Regions from separate parts of the Homo sapiens genome. Here region 2 is linked to region 1. The links are contacts of gene promoters, found by promoter capture Hi-C in human tissues and cell types (Jung and others, 2019). All regions are on one chromosome and are shown on one strand. The core of a region is centred on a gene start or on the middle of the fragment in contact, and the rest is flanking DNA. Distances in the headings are between cores, read along the strand shown.

What was found. Contacts are between HindIII fragments. The study calls those that stand out against the background at their distance.
Region 2: a fragment that was not itself captured here is called in contact with the fragment with the promoter of CDK11B in region 1 in 7 of the 25 tissues and cell types used here (adrenal gland, aorta, dorsolateral prefrontal cortex and 4 more).

What each region holds. Positions count from the first base shown.
Region 1 is chr1:1,657,754-1,661,034 of GRCh38, forward strand. It overlaps CDK11B (cyclin dependent kinase 11B), which reads right to left and starts at 1,251. Exons shown (of 20, transcript NM_033486.3): 1 at 1,161-1,251. RefSeq lists enhancers at 1,094-1,816, 1,248-1,337, 1,358-1,637. The HindIII fragment of the contact is 36,520 bases long and covers 1-3,281 here.
Region 2 is chr1:1,883,635-1,887,059 of GRCh38, forward strand. All of the region lies in intron 1 of GNB1 (G protein subunit beta 1), which reads right to left. Among named protein-coding and RNA genes, the nearest start is that of GNB1, 5.7 kb to the right of the region's middle. The HindIII fragment of the contact is 4,669 bases long and covers 1-3,425 here.

The DNA of each region.
Region 1 (3,281 bases), core at 1-2,500:
CCCAGTGTGGTGGCGCGTGCCTGTATTCCTAGCTACAGGAAGGAGGCTGCTAGAGGCAGGAGGATCACTTGAATCAGAGAGGTCAAGGCTGCAATGAGCCAAGACTGCGCCACTGCACTCCAGCCTAGATAACAAAGTAAGACTTGGTTAAAAAAAAAAAAAAAAAAAAAAAAGTAAGCTCTAGGCTGAGGCGGGTGGATCACAAGGTCAGGAGGTCAAGACCAGCCTGGCCAACACGGCGAAAACCCTGTCTCCACTAAAAATACAAAACTTAGCTGGGCGTGGTGGCGGGTGCCTGTAATCCCAGCTACTCGGGAGGCCGAGGCAGCAGAATCGCTTGAATCCGAAAGGCGGAGGTTCCGGTGAGCCGAGGTCGCGTCACTGCACTCCAGCAAGACCCCGTCTCAAAAAAAAAAGAAAAAAAAACAAGAATGATAAGTTGTAAGCCAGGCAAGGTGGCGAGCGCCTGTAGTCCCATATACTCTGCAAGCTGAGATGGGAGACCGATTGAGCCCAGGAGTTCCAGGCTGAAGTGCGCTTGTGAACAGCCACTGCGCTGCAGCATGGGCGACAAAAAAGAGTGATGGGTTCTGAAAAATGACCGCTTGAAATCAAGTCTCGTTTCTGTCATTCTTGTATGGTCTTGGGTAACGTAATTCACCTCAGTTTAGTCTTCCGTACAACCAGAATAACAACACCTACGTGATAGTATCGATCGCGGATTAAAGATCATCCGTTTAAAGGCTCTTAACTCAGGACCTGCCACTCATCAAACACTGCTTTTACTGTCAGAATCTGCTAGAAAGACCGCTTGGACTACGTGAAGCCACTAGCACACTGGACAGCTGCACCTTGAGACCGGGGAGATGCTCCGAGATGTGCTCGCGAACAAGGCCACCTGACCCGGGCACTGGGCTATTTCCTCGGGTTCAGTCCCGCACACTTGAGGTTCAGCCTGGCAGACGTTGGCTCCAGACAGCGTTTGGACCCGCCGCCTCCACCACCCAAAGTTCCGTGCGGGATGAGACTGTCCGCGGAAGCGAGGGTGTCGCTCGCCCCCGGGCCCGGGTCCGCCCCGCTCCGAGGCCTGCTCGGAAGAAAGACCTCGGTGCGCAGTTCTCCTCGCGCTCCCACACCTGGTCCGCCCAGTCGGAACTCACCCCTACGCCGCCGCCGCTGCCGCCGCCGCCGCCGCCGGTCCCGGAGCCAGAGAAGAAACAGCAACCGGCGCGCGCCAAAAGTATCGTCACTTCCTGTATTGGCGCGTAATGATGATATAATAGCCGACCTCCGGCCCAGAACTCGAGACAACGACAGGGGCTCGCTCTGTGCGGCACTTCCTGTGTCTGCGCGGGATGATAACGCATAAAACAGCGCTTGCTCAGGTCCAGGACGCCAGAAGAAACAGCCCGGTGAGCGCACTTCCGACTTCGGCGCGGGCTGTGACGCAGGAATCGGGACTCCGGAGGAGCGACGCCCACTTTTGGAGCAGTTTGCGCCTGCGCGGAACGCGTGGCCGGCTTCCGGAATCCTACCGGGACTTTTCCGGTAGCGAAGCCCGCGCCTGTGCCAAGGCTTGCGAGCAGAATGCCTTCGCGATGGACGCCCGCATTCCACCCCCTTGACCGCTGGGACCCCTAGTGGCGGGTGGGTGGAGCGCGCTCCATTTACCTGCTGGTTACCTCGTGAGGCGCCTCAGGTCTGTGTGTCTTGTAAAGGCCGATCTCGGAATTTAACTCTGAACCTTACTCAGAAACAGGGCAGGGAGAGCTCTTACGATGTGATTTTATTTTATTTATTCATGTATTTACTTTTGAGTCGGAGCCTTGCTCTGCCGCCCAGGTTGGAGTGCAGTGGCGTGGTCTTGGCTCACTGCAGCCTCCTCCCGGGTTCAAGGAATTTTCCTGCCTCAGCCTCCCGAGTAGCTGGAACCACAGGCCCGCGCCACCACGCCCGGCTAATTTTTATATTTTTGGTAGAGACGAGGTTTCGCCATATTGGCCAGGCTGGTCTCGAACTCCTGACCTCAAGTGATCCGCCCGCTTCGTCCTCCTAAAGTGCTGGGATTACAGGCGTGAGCCACCGCGCCCGGCCTTTTACAATGTGATTTTGAAGCTGACACTGGCAGTGGGTCCTCAAAGTGCAGACTCACTGGGTATGGTGCTTCCCCCAACTCCCAGGGCCCCACTCCAAACCCATGGATTCAGAGCATTGCAGGAGAAGAGGATAAAACGAGCAATTAATTCCCTTTCCATATGTCAGGTTTTCCTCTTGACTTGAAAAGTCACAGAAAAATGCTTTAGACATCTGAATCTCAGGAAACAAACAATGGAAGATAAACATCCGCATTTACTGGGCCTGAAATGGGAAAATGAAAGATGTGGCAAGAAACTGACAAGGGCCCAAGAAGGGCGATGGGTATCGGAATTTTTTTCATCCCGGAATGAAATGCTGCTTGCTTTGTGTACCCAAGCTCTTTTTTTATTTTTATTTTTTTGAGACGGAGTCTCGCTCTGTTGCCCAGGCTGGAGTGCAGTGGCGCGATCTCGGGTCACTGGAAGCTCCGCCACCCGGGTTCACGCCATTCTCCCGCCTCCACTCCATTCGCCCGCATTAGGCTCCTGAGTACCTGTGACTACAGGCGCCTGCCACCATGCCCGGCTAATTTTTTTTTTATTTTGGGTAGAGACGGGGTTTTACCGTGTTAGCCAGGATGGTCTCAATCTCCTGACCTCGTGATCAGCCTGCCTCTGCCTCCCAAAGTGCTGGGATTACAGGCGTGAGCCACCGCGCCTGGCCTCCCCCAAGCTCTTAATGTTGCTTCCTGAGTTCTTGGTAACTGGGGAAATCTCCCTATTTTTTTATTTTTATTTTTTTTTGAGACGGAGTCTTGCTCTGTCGCCCAGGCTGGAGTGCAGTGGCGCAATCTCGGCTCACTGCAAGCCCCACCTCCCGGGTTCAACGCCATTATCCTGCGAGCCTCAGCCTCCCGAGTAGCTGGGACTACAGGCGTCCACCACTACGCCCGGCTAATTTTTTTGTGTTTTTAGTTGAGATGGGGTTTCACTGTATTAGCCAGGATGGTCTTGATCTCATGACCTTGTGATCTGCCTGCCTTGGCCTCCCAAAGGGTTGGGATTACAGGCGTGAGCCACAGCACGTTTTTTTCTGTTTTGAGAAAAAGTCTCGCTGTGTCACCCAGGCTGGAGTGCAGTGGCACAATTTTGGGTAACTGCAGCCTCCGCCTCCTGGGTACAAGTGATTCTCCTGCCTCAGCCTCC
Region 2 (3,425 bases), core at 703-3,202, 230 kb after region 1:
CACAGATAAGGACAGACACAGAAGTCCTAACACTGCAGGTGGCCTAAATTAAGGCAGGCTCAGGGAGGACAGAAAGCTCCTGTGGAGTGGAAGGGTAGAAGTTGAACTGATCTTGATTTTCAGTGCGAATAAAAGTCCTAACACTGCAAATCAGCCAGTGAGGCAACAGAGCTGAGCTGGGCTCTAACTCAGACAGTGCCAATCCTTTTGAAAACTACTGAATTTCTCTCACTCCCTAGATTTTAGGAATTATTTTAAAATTCCTATGAGAAATTTTCTGAAACCTATTGTAGACTCTTTTGACATGCTCATCTAATTATAAAGTGTCCGGACTTTTTTTTTTTTTTTTTGACCGAGTTTCACTCTTGTTGCCCAGGCTGCAGTACAATGGCACAATCTCGGCTCACCGCAACCTCCGCCTCCCAGGTTCAAGCGATTCTCTTGCCTCTGCCTCCCGAGTAGCTGAGATTACAGGCATGTGCCACCATGCCCGACTAATTTTTTTTTTTTTTTTGAGATGGAGTTTCCTTCTTGTTGCCCAGGCTGGAGTGCAATGGCACGATCTCGGCTCACTGCAACCTCAGCCTCCCGAGTAGCTGGAATTACAGGCATGCATCACCATGCCTGGGTAATTTTTTGTATTTTTAGTAGAGATGGGGTTTCTCCATGTTGGCCAGGCTGATCCACCCTCCTCGGCCTCCCAAAGTGCTGGAATTACAGGCGTGAGCCACCGCGTCTGGGCTAATTTTGTATTTTCAGTAGAGACAGGGTTTCTCCATGTTGGTCAGGCTGGTCTTGAACTCCCAACCTCAGGTGATCCGCTCACCTTGGCCTCCCAAAGTGTTGGGTTTACAGGCATGAGCCACCACACCCAGCCCAGAATTTTTTAAGCTTTATTAACTACAACACTCGGCAGAAGTTGAGTGTCTGTAATCAACATAGGGAATATATTTTCTAAGTGCTACAGGACTGCACACAGACATGCATGGAGACATGATTACCCACCAGTAAACAAGAATACATTCCACTGATGCCCTTAGTATTCCCATTCTTTTTTTTTTTTTGAGAGACGGAGTCTTGCTCTGTCGCCCAGGCTGGAGTGCAGTGGCGCGATCTCCACTCACTGCGAGGTCTGCCTCCCGGGTTCACACCATTCTCCTGCCTCAGCCTCCCAAGTAGCTGGGACTACAGGTGCCTGCCACCACGCCCGGCTAATTTTTTTGTATTTTTAGCAGAGACAGGGTTTCACTGTGTTAGCCAGGTTGGTCTCGATCTCCTGACATCGTGATCTGCCCGCCTGGGCCTCCCAAAGTGCTGGGATTACAGGCATGAGCCACCGTGCCCGGCCAGTATTCCAATTCTAACAGGTGAATGAATTAATACATAAAGTCCTCTCTTGATATAATGCATTAGTAAGTTTGGAGCAATGAATTATTAAATCATAAAAATATTTTATCTATGGCAAAATAGGTTCAACAGAATAAACTTAAAAATTAAGCTGGGCACGGTGGCTCACACCTGTAATCCCAGCACTTTGGGAGGCGGAGGCGGGCGGATCACTTGAGGTCAGCAGTTTGAGACCAGCCTGGCCAACATGGTGAAACCCCATCTCTACTAAAACTACAAAAATTAGCCAGGCATGGTGGCGGGCACCTGTAATCTCAGCTACTTGGGAGGCTGAGGCAGGAGAATCACTTGAACCCGGGAGGCAGAAGTTGCAGTGAGCCAGGACAGCGCCATTGCACTCCAGCCTGGGCAACAGGAAGGAAACTCCATCTCAAAAAAAAAAGAAAGAAAAAAGGAATTACCTTAGATAATCTTAATCTGGTCTTTTAAATCAGTAAGCTTTTAAAAAATGGGTCTTTCTCAGAATTCTAATTTAAGAAGACATAAATAAGGAAATACTTCCACTTAATCTTTTTTTTTTTTTTTTTTTTTGTGAAACGGAGTCTCGCTCAGTCACCCAGGCTGGAGTGCAGTAGCACGATCTCGGCTCACTGCAAGCTCCGCCTCCCGGGTTCACGCCATTCTCCTGCCTCAGCCTCCCAAGTAGCTGGGACTACAGGCGCCCGCCACCACACCCAGCTAATTTTTTTGGTATTTTTAGTAGCAATGGGGTTTCACCGTGTTAGCCAGGATGGTCTCAATCTCCTGACCTCGTGATCCGCCCACGTCGGCCTCCCAAAGTGCTGGGATTACAGGCGTGAGCCACCGTGCCCGGCCCACTTAATCTTAAAAAAAAAAAAAAGCAAGCAAGCAACATTGCTCTATAAAACAGAAAGCTTTTCTACCACTGAAAGCCAGGAGTAATTTCCACTGATTACCATGGCACCCAATGGTAGGCACTGACACAAGAACAAGAGGCTAAAAGGTTTAAAAAAGCTTTCAGCATTCCGGCAGGGCACGGTGGCTCACGCCTGTAATCCTAGAACTTTGGGAGGCTCAGACAGGCAGATCACCGGAGGTCAGGAGTTCAAGACCAGCCTGGCCAACATGGTGAAACCCCATCTCTACTAAAATAAAATTTTAAAAAATTATCCGGGCATGACGGCGGGTGCCTGTAATCCCAGCTACTCGGGAGGCTGAGACTGGAGAATCACTTGAACCCGTGAGATGGTGGTTGCAGTGAGCCGAGATTGCGCCACTGCACTCCAGACTGGGTGGCTGAGTGGGACTCTGTCTCACAAAAAAAGCTTTCAGCATTCCACTAATCCACTAGCAAACTCAAATGTCTATAGATTGTCTCTATTTCTTCAATCAAAGTTCTAGAACAAAATGCATAGCTTTGAAATAGGTGGTGCTCTGTCCCTCTCCCAGAGCAGCTGATGTGATGTTGCATTTCTCTCTCTTCATACACACTCACTCCCATATACGTTGGCCCTGCTTTTTCTTTCAGTAATGTTGAACACTGCAGTTTCATAAATTTCTGATAGTTTCCATTTTAAATTTATTTTATCTCCTCATTCTGTGTTCCTAAACCAAACACTTAACTGAATTGCCTACTTCATAATCTCTCCAACCACTCTTAACAAATGCAAACCTGAAATCAGAATGTAAACCAGTTTAAAATTTTTTTTATTTTTATTTTTTGAGACGGAGTCTCGCTGTGTCGCCCAGGCTGGAGTGCAGTGGCCGATCTTGGCTCACTGCAAGCTCCCCCTCCCGGGTTCCTGCCATTCTCCTGCCTCAGCCTCCTGAGTAGCTGGGATTACAGGTGCCCAGCACCACGCCCAGCTAATTTTTTGTAGAGAAGTAATTTTAGTAGAGAAGGGGTTTCACCGTGTTAGCCAGGGTGGTCTCGATCTCCTGACCTCATGATCCGCCTGACTCGGCCTCCCAAAGTGCTGGGATTACAGGTGTGAGCCACCACGCCCGGTCAAACCAGTTTAAAATTTTATAAAAATTTTTGTTCCATGTCTTGTGAG